Regions from separate parts of the Homo sapiens genome. Here region 1 is linked to region 2. Evidence: promoter capture Hi-C in human tissues and cell types (Jung and others, 2019). All regions are on one chromosome and are shown on one strand. Each heading gives the region's core, a stretch centred on a gene start or on the middle of the fragment in contact. The rest is flanking DNA. Distances are from core to core; before and after follow the strand shown. Region 1 has its middle 32 kb from the start of GABRA5. Region 2 holds the start of GABRA5 (gamma-aminobutyric acid type A receptor subunit alpha5).

Region 1 (5,997 bases), core at 240-2,739, 34 kb before region 2:
GGGAGCCGGCTCTGGCCTTGGCCAGCCCGGAAAGGGGCTCCCACAGTGCAGCAGTGGGCTGAAGGGCTCCTCAAGTGCCGCCAAAGTGGGAGCCCAGGCAGAGGAGGCGCCGAGAGCGAGCGACGGCTATGAGGACTGCCAACCCGCTGTCACCTCTCAGCAGGAAAACAAGCTTGGGGCTCCCATTGATTCTACGTTATGGTGAGCTGTATAATTATTCCATTACTACAAGGTAATAATAATATAAATAAAGTGCACAATAACTGTAATGTGCTTGAATCCTCCTGAAACCATCCTCCCCACCGCATCCTGCCCTAATCGGTGGAAAAATTGTCTTCAATGAAACCAGTCCCTGGTGCCAAAAAGGTTGTGTGAATGTAAATTTTCATTCCATTTGTATAAATACTTGGAAGTGGCTTTCCTGGGTTAGGTGGTAAATGTGTGTTTAATTTTAAAAGACTCTGCCAAATGGACTTTCAAAGTTGCATTAGATTAGACTCTAATGCAGCTGCTGATCTGACAGGAGGCGGAGCTCAGGTAGTAATGTGAGCAAAGCGAGGCAGATAAGTACAAAGTTCTCTTGCTGACCGCTCACCTCCTGCTGTGTGGCCCGGTTTGGATGCGAACAGTAATGTGTGAGAGATCCAGTTTCTCTGCATCCTCACCAGGACTTGATGGTTTCAGTTCTTGTTTTTGTTCTGTTTGTTTTGTTTTGTTTTGTTTTTAAGTTTTAGCCAGTCCAGTAGATGCGTAATTGTATCGCATTGTAGGTTACTATGCATTTCTCCAATAACTAGTGATGTTGAACATCTTTTATATGCTTACCTGCCATTCATGTATCCTCTTAGGTAAAATGTCTGTTCAGATCATTTGCCCATTTAAAAAAGTGTGTTGTTTTCTTATTTTTCAGTTTTGAGAGCTTCTTGTATATTCTGGGTAGAATCTGTATCTGATAAATTCGGTTATCAGATATGTGGCTTAAAAATATTTTCTTCCAGCTTGTGGCGTGTCTTTTCGTTTTAACAGTGTATTTCAAAGGGCAAAAATTGCTGAAGGCCAATTTATCATTTTTTCCTTTTATGAATCGTGCTTTTAACATCATATCTACAATTAACTTCTTCCAAAACCAGACTTTCACTGATGTTTATTATTCCTTCTGCTAGAAGTTTTACCACCTTTTATTTTATATTTAGATCCATGATCACTTTTAATTACATCAATTTATGTAAGGTGTTTTTTTAAAATATGAATATTCTATTGTTCCAGCACCGTTTGTAGAAAATTCCATTATTTCTCAATTGAATTGTTTTTGCACTTTTCTCGTAAGTCAGTTGACCTGACTTGTGTTGGTGTATTTCTAGACTGTCTACTCTGTTTCATCGATCTATGTCTCTAAATTTTCATCAATTCCACTCTCTCTTGATTATCGTGATTTTGTTATGAATCTTGAAATCAGGTAGTGCGAATCCTCCAAATTTGTTACTTTTAATGTTTGTATTAGCTATTCTGTTTTCTTTGGCATTCCTTATATTTAAGCATCAGCTTAATATCACTAGAATATCACTAGAAATATCACTAGAAACCTTGCTCAGATTTCAACTGAAATTACATTGCATCTATTGATCAAATTGGGGAAACCTGACATTTTAACATATTGAATCTTCTAAGCCACAAACATGATATATCTCCCTTTATTTAGGTATTCTTTGATTTCTTCCATTACCTCTTTATACGCGTACAGACTTTGCATGTATTTTGTTAAATATATACCTAAGAATTTAAAAATATAAATTATATTTTTAAAATGAAAAAATCCATTTGTCAATAGCTAACCTGTAGACATTATATGGACTTTTGTATATTGACCGTGTTTCATAAGATCTGATTGAACTCACTTTTTCTTGAAGTTTTTCTGTAGATCCTTTTGAATTTTCTAGACAATTATGTCACATGAGTACAGACAGGATTTACCTTTTCATTTACAATATGTAGGTCTATTCTTGACTTACTGCACTGGGTACAGCTTCCAGGAAAATGTCAATTAGCAGTATAAGGAAGGGGCCTCCTAAGGTGGTCTGCTAAGGGTGGAAACATTCATTCTTTCACCATTTAGATTGATGATACCTGTAGATTTTTTTGTAGATGCCCTGGAACGGGTTAAGGAGGTCCCTTTCTAGTAGTTTACTAAGAGTTTTGTATTTGTTTCTTTTATTCATATAAAATTCCCATAACAGAAAATTCATCATTTTAACTATTTTAAAGTTTATGACTCAGTGATTTTTAGTATTTTCACAATGTTGTACAACCACAGCTACTAATTCCAGAATATTTCCACACTCCAGAAGAAACCCGTATTTCCAAATTCCCCTCTCTCCCACTCCCTAGCAACCACTAATCTACTTCCTGTCACTATAGATTTGCGTATTTTGAACATTTCATATAAATGAAATCATAAAGTAGTGTTTGTGTGTGTGTGTGTTTGTCTTCTTTTACTTAGTGCAATGTTTTCGAGATCCATCCTTACTCTACTATGTAGCAGTACTTCATTACTTTTTGTGGCTGAAACAAATTATATGGATGGACTACATTTTGTTTATCCTTTCCTCAGTTGTGGAGCATTTGGGTTGTTTTCACCTTTTGCCTGTTATGAATAATCCTGCTATGAAAAGTCCTATATGTTCATATATGTTTGTATGAACATAAGGTTGCAATTATTTTATGTAAATCCCTAAGAGTGGAGTTGCCGTATCACATGATAAATTCTATTTTTTTTTTTTTTTCCGACACGGAGTCTTGCTCTGTCGCCCAGGCTGGAGTGCAGTGGCGCGATCTCGGCTCACTGCAAGCTCCGCCTCCCAGGTTCAAGCGATTCTCCTGCCTCAGCCTCCCGAGTAGCTAGGATTACAGGCACATGCCACCACGTCCAGCTAATTTTTTGTATTTTTAGTAGAGATGGGGTTTCACCGTGTTAGCCAGGATGGTCTCGATCTCCTGACCTCATGGTCTGCCCTCCTTGGCCTCACAAAGTGTTCGGATTACAGGCGTGAGCCATGGTGCCTGGCCACTTGTCACTTTCTTGATAGTGTCCATTGATACACAAAAGCTTTTGATTTTGATGAAACTCAATTTAGCTTTTTTTTCCTTTGATTACTTGTGCTTTTGGTGTCATATTTAAGAAACTGTTGCCTAATCCAAAGTCACAAATATTTACACCTACATTTCTTTGAAGGAATTTTATAGTTTTATCACCTATATTTATACATGCTATATTTTGAATTAAATGTTGCATATGGTGTGACATGGATATCCATCCTTTTGCATGTGGATATCTGTTTTTCTAGTGCCATTTGTTGAAAAGATTATTCTTTCCTCACAGAATGCTCTTGGCACCCTTGCCAAAAATCAATTGACCAGAGATACATGGATTGATTTCTGGACTCTCAATCTGGTTCCATTGATCTATATGCCTATCTTTATGCCAATATCACACAATTCTGATTATTGTAGCTCTGTAGTAAGTTTTGAAACCAGGACATTTGAGTCCTCAATCTTTGTTCCTCTTCTTCAAGGTTATTTTGACTACTTGAGGTCCCTTGCATTTCCATATGAATTTTAGGATGGATGCATAAATGTCTGCAAAATGAGGCAGTTGGAATTTTTATAGGGATTGCACTGAATCTGTAGTGAATATGGGGAGAAATCCATCTTAATGGTATTAAAATTTCCAATCCATGAACATGGAATATCTTCTCATTTATTTAGGTCCTCTTTAATTTCTTTCAACTATGTTCTGTAGTTTTCAGTATGTTAAGACTTACACTTTCTTGACTTAATATACTGCTAAGTATTTTATCCCATTCAATGCTATTGTGAATGAAATTGTTTTTAAAATATCCTTTTCAGATTGTTCATTGCTAATGTATAGAGATACATGTGATTTTTCATATTGATTTGTATCCTGAAACTTTGCTAAACTAGTTTATTAGTTGTAATAGGTTTTTCAGTATGTATTTGTGGATTCTTTAGAATTTTCTATATATAAGATATGCCATCTGTGAATAGAGACAGTTTTATTTCCTTTTCAATCTAGGTGCTTTTTATTTCTTTTTTCTTGTTTAATTGCCTTGGCTAGAAATTCCAGTACATTGTCAAATAGAAGCAGTGAAAAGGGATACGCTTATCTTCTTCCCGATCTTAGCAGATGTTAGCTGTGGGTTTTTCACACATGCCCTTGATCAAGTTGAGGAAGTTCCCTTCCACTATTAGCTTGTTGAGTGTTTTATTTTTAGTCATGTAAAAGTGTTAAATATTTCCAAACGCTTTTCTGCATCTATTGAAATAATCATATGGTTTATTTTCTATTTATTAATATGGTTTTTTACATCCATTAATTTTTGCTAAGAGTTTTTATCATGAATCGCTTTTGAATTTTGCCTGTTTCTTTCGCACCTATTGAGATAATTATTTGACTTCCTTCTTAGTCTGTTGTACAGTAAACTACATTGATTGATATTTAAATATCGAACTAGGCTTCCATCATTGAGATAAGAACATGATTGTGATGTAAGTTTTTTATATGTTTCTGAATTTGATTTGCTATTATTTTGTCAAGGATTATTTGTATTAGTGGTTTTTTGGGATATTGAACTGTAGTTTTCTTTTGATATAATTATCTGATATTGTTATTAGGGCAATTCTGGCTGAAAATGTGACTGTGAAGTGTTCTCTTTTCTATTTACTGGAGAAAGTATAATAAAGTTAGTATTATTTCTTCCTTAAACGTTTATAGGATCTGTCAATGAAAACATTTGGGCTTGGAATTTTTTTATTGAAGGTTTTGAGCTATCAATTCAACTTATCTAATTGACATAGAACTATTCATTTACATACTTCCCTTTGAGCAAGTTTTGATAGCCTGTATCATTCAAATCATTTTTAGGTTTCATCTAATTTTGTGAATTGATGGGCATAGAGTTGTTGCTATCATTTCTTTGTTATCTTTTTAATGTCTGCAGAGAAGTTGTAATATCCACATGCTTGCTATTGTTGACTATAGTGTTCTATATACACTGATTCAGTCAAGTTGTTGGATAGTATTGTTGAGGTTAGCTAGATCCTTACCAGTTTTCAGCCTACTGTTCTATTATTTCTGAAACACCAGAGGTTCCATCTAGGTCCTGCTGCCCACCGCACAGAAAGCCAATCACTGAGACAACAAGGATTGCCAAGGAAGAAGGCTTTAATTGGGTGCTGCAGCCGAGGAGATGTAAGCTCAGTCTCAAATCCATCTCCCTGACCAAATAAAACTAGGGGTTTGTATAGCAGTGAAGAAATGTAACCATGTGTAAGAAAAAACCTAGGGAGTGGCAAAGACGCAATCATGGTAAATGAGGGTCCTGGCATCTGATGTGGTGATCTGGTGTGTTTCTGTTCTTTTATACTTTTTTGAGAAGACTGATATGGTGAGTTTCAGTTCTTTGATACTTTTTTTAAGAGGCCAGAAGGTCCTTTCCTGGGGAAGGAACGCAGATAAAGCAAATATAACTTTCAAGCTTTAAGACCAAAAGGATACATTTCTATGTGTATTCAAAATGGACAGTCTGTGGGACTATTGGGTTGGTTTCACTGTCAGTTACTGAAAGAGGAATGTTGAAGTCTCAAGTATAATTATGTATGTGTACATTTCCTCTTTAATCCCATCAGTTTTTGCTCCATGTATTTTGTAGCTCTACTGCTAGGTACATAAACATTTTGGATTGTGTGTCTTCCTGGAGACATATTCCCCCTTTATGTATGTCCCTCTTACTAGTATTTTTTTCTATCTCTTCCAACTCATTTTTGTTTTTCCCTCTTGTTTTACCTTTTCTTGGGTTACTTGAGCATTTTGTTACTCATTTAATCTTCTCTATTGACTTTTTTATCTTTTCCATTTTTATAGCTTACCACAGAGTTTTCCATATACATTTTAATTATTCATATGTTCTCTTCATATATCAT
Region 2 (6,503 bases), core at 4,000-6,499:
TTATTGACTACTTACTGAAAGTCAAAGACAGAATGGTTGATGGGTACTTAAGGTATAGTTTCTCCCGAAACATCACTTTTTGCTCCATCGTAAAGTAAAAAATCATAAGTTGAGCCATTGTAAGTTGGTGAACATCTGTACATATAAAAATATCTGTATATACAGATACATACAGATACATTCAAAAATTTTCAGAATTTTGGAATTCTATACTGAGAAAAAGTATCTTTAAAAAGTGAAAAATGAAAGAAAAACGTTTTCAGAGAAATAAGTTTGTAGAACTCATCATAGAACACCTGTGCTGCAGGAAGTAACGAAGGGTTTTCTATGAGCAGAATTAAAGTCATATCCAATAAAATTTTTTTCTCATTTGAAAACCTATTTTAAAAATAATTGATTGTTCTACAAGGAACTCAATCAAAACAGCAAGAAAAACAAATTATCCCATTCATATGAGGGCAAATGACATCAAGAGACATGTTTTAAAAGAAGATGTACAAATGGACAATGAACATATGAAAAAATGCTTGACATGATTAATCATCAAGGAAATGAAAATTAAAGGCGCAATAAGATACCACTTTACTCCTGCAGGAATAGCCCTTATTAAAAAGTCAGCAAACAACAGATGTTGGCAAGAATGTGATGAAAAGGGAGTCCTTATACACTGTTGGTAGGAATGTGAATTAGTACAAGCTCTACAGAAAACAGGACAAAGGTTTCTCCAAGAACTAAAAGTAGATCTACCATTCGATCCAGCAACTCCATACTGTGTATCTATCTAAAGGAAAAGAAGTCACTAAATCAAAAAGACCTGTATATATATGTTTATCACAGCACAATTCACAATTGCAAACATATGGAATCAACTTAAGTGCCCATCAACTGAGTGGATAAAGAAAATTTGGTGCATATATATACCATGGAATACTGCTTATCCATAAAAAAGGATAAAATAACATCACTTGCAGCAGCTTGGATGGAACTGGGGGGCCATTATCCTAAGTAAGTAACTCAGAAACAGATAACCAAATACTGCATGTTCTCACTGATAAGTGGGAGCGAAGCTGTGGGTATGCAGGGACATCCAGAGTAATGAATGCTGGAGACTTAGAAGGGAGAAGGATGGGAGGGAGGTGAAAGATTACCTACTGGATGAAAAGTTACCTACTGGGCACAATGTACACTATTTGGGTGATAGATGCACTAGAAGCCTCGACTTCACCACTGTCCAATTCATCTATGTAACCAAAAACAACTTGTGTCCTTAAATCTACTGAATGTTTTTTTAAAAAGAAAGGACATGTCAACAAGAGTTGGCACCTTCATATTCTACATTCACAAACTAAAAACCAAAAAAAAAAGAAATTGATTGTTAAAGTAAAATATAAGTCACTGAATGCAGAAGTCATATGTGTGATAACAGGAGTGAATAGGACAGGAAGAAAAAAAGAAGTATATTATTGTAAGTTGCATGCACTACACTGTACATGAAATGGTATTATGTTAATTAAAGTTAGACTGTAGGCCGGGCATGGTGGCTCGCGCCTGTAATCCCAACACTTTGGGAGGCCGAGGTGGGAGGATCCCTTGAACCCAGGAGTTCAAGACAAGCCTGGGCAACATAGTGAGACTTGGTCTCTACTAAAAATTCAAAAATTAGCTGGGTGTGATGGTGCATGCCCATAGTTCCAACTAGTTGAGAGGTTAAGATGGGAGGATCACTTGAGAACAGGAGTTCGAGGTTGCAGTGAGCTGAGATTTTACCACTACATTCCAATCTGGGCAAGAGAGCAAGACTCTGTCGCAAAAAAAAAAAAAAAAAAAAAGAAAAGAAAAGAGAAAAAAGATAGGTTATGATGAGTTAAAGATGCCTGCTGTAAACCCTAGAGCCATCACAAAATAAAATGAAATATGGCAAAATAGAGATATGATAAATAAAACACTAAAGAAGATAAAATAGATACAATGAAATTAGAAAAAAATTTAGTATCATTTTAAAAGCCCCATATGCCTCTATTTTCCTAGTTACATAAAGGAGGCAAAGTGTGAAAAAGAATAGACCATGTTCTTCTAAGGACCCATGTCAGGTGTCAGTAGAATGGAGGTGATGCAGGAGGGTGGGAACGGATGCCCCATGTTTTTAAAGCTGTGGGGTGTCTTCTCTTTTTATTTTTTTAAATCCAGAAATGTAGATCTGTTCATTCATCCATTCATTGATGTAAAATCTGGTTTCTGAGGTGTTCAGCTTGATGACTGATACATGTATACTTCACCACCACAATCACATGCACTCACATTTCCATCACCTCGCAGAGCTGCCCTCTTTTGTGTGTGTGATGAGAACCCATAAGATCTACCCTCTTAGCAAGTGTGAAGTATATATCGCAGTGTTGTTAGCTGTAGTCACAATGTTGTATAGTAGATCCCCAGAACTTATTCATCTTGCATAACTGAAATTTTGTACCCTTTGACCCACATCTCCCCGTCTCTCCTTCTCCCAGCCCGTGGCAACCACTATATACCCAGTAACCCCCTTTCTGGGGATATAGTCAAAGGAAATAAAATCAGTATCTGAAAGAGAGATCTGAACTGTCATGTTCATTTTGGCATTTTTTACAATAGCCAAATAATGGAACAACCTAAGCATCTGCCAATGGATAAATGAATAAAGAAACTGTGAGATACGTACACACACACACGCACACACACACACACACACACGTATATGTATAACATACATATACGACAGTATATTATTTAGCCCTAACAAAGAAGGAAATCCTGCCATTTTTGACCACATGGATGAACCTGGAGAACATGCTTGGTGAAATAAGCCAAGCACAGAAAGACAAATAGCACATGATCTCACTTATACCATGGCACTGTGTTCATGTCTCAGCCACATTTACCACACCCAACCACGCAAACACAGCCACTGTCTCAGTTCCTGCCCCTGACCGGGGTACAGGGTGGGTGCTCTGTGAACACGTGTTCTACTCATGGCCCAGCTTCCCCACCTTCAGCTATTTTAGGCTCTGACACTGGAAATGAAATTCTTATGAAGCCCGGGCCAAGGCTGAGGTTGTGTGGAACTAGGGTGCCCTCTACTGTCTTCCACAACGATCACGACATTGCTTAATTTCATTCAATGAAGAGAAAATGCTAATGAAACAAATGGGAATTCAACGGATAGCCTATTATTTCTCAGCACAAATACAGAATTCTATAGTAAAACAAAAATCATTGAAATGGTAGTAAGCACTCTTCTAGCAATGTGAGTTTCTGTAAGGTTCTGATGGGCCTTACGATTTCACTGTCCCCTCAGGGCAGTCCATCTAAAGTGAGGCTATGTTATGTTACATAAACACTAGGAGGAGAGAGAGTGGCATACCGTTTCATTACAGGGAAGAGAAAAGAATTTAAGCAACATGCTGAAATACAATGTTAAAGAATGACTCTAACTTAAAATGATTTTTATATATTCAATAATATGTGTTGTGTGGACATAAAGCTGATAGAAAGTGTACCAAAAAAAGTGGAAGTTTTAAACATAATCCATCAAAAGAACATATTTCCTTACAGCTGACATTTCTTTTATTATTAAGAATTAATGTCTATAACCCTCGCTAATACAAAAATCATCCCTTGTTTATATACATTTATTTTTGCAAACTCACACCGAATGACTTTGTGTGACAAGCTGTGAAGTTTAAAATTTACCAATTCTTCCAACTCTTTGATTTGCATTATGCTGTTTAATCCTGAGAGAAGAGCAGCTGTCGCTGGTATTAGGTGTTAGAATTCCAACACCTAATAGGTGAAAATTATATTAGGCTGATCATAAAACCATGTTGTTAACTTTTTAAAATTTAATGTCTCCCAAGGAATTTCACCCTAGTGGTACATCTTTTGGGAAATTAGAAAATGAAGAAATGCATACGTTCAGTGATCCATTTTAGAATTAGAAAATTCAAATTAGCATCTTATTTCATTCATATTTCCTGAAGAACCACTGGAAACAGTTATTTAATAGTGTGGCTAAATGTATATTCAGAGAAACACTTCCTGTATATTTGCACATTTATGTATATTTATGTCCTATTCCTGGAATAGATTTACAAGTTTTGTTTTTCAGAAAATTTCAGAATTTCTGGAATGTGCAGAAGTATTAACAGGTAACTTAGATTTGGAATACACTGTATTAGAGATAACTGGAAAAATGAGAGGCTTCCTACACTGGAAGGTCAAAGATCTTTCCTGGAGGGGAGTTAGGAATTTGCCTTTACTTACCATTATTCTGTTAAAAGAGATTATGAATAATGCAGTTTCACAAAAGGAATGGGACAATGGTGTAAGTAAACCTCCCCATCACGTTTTCAGTGGCTTTCCTTTGAGTCTTGAACGTTTTCCACTGGGTGTTATAGTCGAGAGTCCCCCACCTCCTGAGGAAGCAAGACCTGGCAAACCCAAGACGATGCGCTCTTACTTGTGTTGTTTGAAGGGGCCCTGCTGCCGCGCAGTTGTCATTAATGCCACCCTCACCTCCCAGGAACTGCACCACTAGGACGGACGACACACCGACGTAATGACCATAGTAAGACCCCATGTACGTGGCTAATGAGGCAGTGACCCGACGTGGCTCGGAAGCCCTGCTGGGGAGATCCCGCCCCGTCACCCCAGAGGCGCTCTCCGACCTGCAGCCCCCAGGGCTCCTGGCCCTTTCCCGTTTGCCACTGCGGCTTGTTGTCAAGAAATGGAACTTCAGAAAACCCCCAGATATACACTGCGTTAGGTAAGGATTTCATTCTAATCGAGTCCAATGTGACCCTGGCTTTCCCTCCCGTAGTTATGCATTCCTGTCTATGAGTGAGATGAAAAGAATGTCCACAGGCCAGCTTCTTTCAGAAGCGCCTAAGAGATGCGCATGTAAGGGGTGCCATGGAGCACCCGGGAAGGACCCAGGCCTGGGCAGGGAGGCGTTGGGGCCGGCTCTAGGGAGCAAAGCTGTCGGAGTCCAGGCCTCTATCACCCGACTGCTGACACTGCCCTCCCATCCCTGCTCTACAAGCGGGCGGTGGTGACTACACGAGGCGCCGAAGATGCTGTTGAGGGCCCTGGAGAAACTTCAGCAGAACAGGGCCTCTCCCCTTGCAGGCCGAGCCGGGGGCCCTGCGCCCTCCCCCTCCGCCCAGCTCGGCCAAGGGCGCATTTGCTGAGCGTCTGGCGGCCTCTACCGGAGCACCTCTGCAGAGGGCCGATCCTCCAGCCCAGAGACGACATGTGGCGCTCGGGCGAGGTGAGAGCGGGCGCGAGTGCGCCGGGGGCGCTGGGGGGCTCTGCGGCGGGCGGCGCGCGGCCCGGGGCGCGGCGCGGAGCGGAGCTGCAGGGCGGCGGCGGGAGCGCGGGGCGCAAGAGCCGCTCCGCCGGGAGTGCCGGGGAAGTTCGCGCTGGCAGCATGGGGCGGTGACGCCGCACCGGCCTTCCGCGCCTGCCAGCCGGGCGAGAGCAGGCGGAGGAGAAGGAGGATGCATCCTCACCGACGGCTCGCCTCCCGGGGCCGGCGCGCAGGGTGAGCCCTGGGCGCGCTGGGCCGGGGCAGTGGGGTAAGAGGACGCGAGCGGGGAAGAGGACCGGCCGCCCCGGCTCGGTCCGCACCCTTCTCCTCGGGGCGCCTGAGCGGCAGGCTGCGTGGCCGGGGAGGAGAGGTGCAGAGCAGGCGGGGCGCGCAGCCAGGCCAGAGCGCAAACTTTACCCTGGCGACTGCGGGGCTGAAGCCGGGCGCGGGAGAGAGCGGGGTCCGGGCGGCTCATCCCTGCCGGACGGGGCACCAGGGCGCGGTGACCGGTTGGGGGTGGGGGACACCCGTTGCCACCATCACGGGAGCCGGAGGGGTGAGATCGCCCACCTGGAAAGCCAGCGTCAGCCCCGGGGCTCTGAGGCGCGCGGCGTCCCGGCGCTGCTCGCGGGGTGGACTCGGACCCCGCGGGGGTGTCGCGCGCGTGTCGCGCGGGCTGCTCGAGGCCAGGGGACTTGGAGTCGCTGCTGCACCGCGCGCTCCCAGCCCAGGAGGAAGGCGCTGCCTGGCGGAGCGCTTGGCTCGTACCCGGGGCAGGAGCAGGGGAAGTCTGCGAAAGCCGGGAGCGAGCCGGGGAGGGCCGGGGAGCTGGAGACCCTCGGCGTGCCGCTGCGGACCGCGCGGGTGGCGACCGCGGGTGCCAGGGCGACCCAGGCTGCGGCTCCGCAGTGCAGCCCCCGCGCCCACCTGCCCTGGCGCGCCGGCCCTGGTGAGCCTCTGTGGGGGTCCGGAGGGTCGTGGGAGCGCAGCCTCTCCTGGGGGTCCCTGGCTCGGGGCTGAGGGGCGGCGGGAGGCGCCGCCCGGGTTTCCCGCATGCAGCGCCGCGTGCTCGCCGCCTGGCTCTGGCCCGGGCCCCGCGACGAGCCCCCCGGACGCGCCCAGGCGACCACCGCATGGCACCCTGCCCTTCTTGGCAGGAGTCGCA

Evidence for each region. Contacts are between HindIII fragments. The study calls those that stand out against the background at their distance.
Region 1: a fragment that was not itself captured here is called in contact with the fragment with the promoter of GABRA5 in region 2 in 2 of the 25 tissues and cell types used here (pancreas and stomach).

The regions. Positions count from the first base shown.
Region 1 is chr15:26,831,586-26,837,582 of GRCh38, forward strand. No RefSeq gene overlaps it. Among named protein-coding and RNA genes, the nearest start is that of GABRA5, 32 kb to the right of the region's middle. The HindIII fragment of the contact is 5,676 bases long and covers 1-4,327 here.
Region 2 is chr15:26,861,813-26,868,315 of GRCh38, forward strand. GABRA5 (gamma-aminobutyric acid type A receptor subunit alpha5) reads left to right here and starts at 5,250. Exons shown (of 11, transcript NM_000810.4): 1 at 5,250-5,299. The HindIII fragment of the contact is 20,920 bases long and covers 1-6,503 here.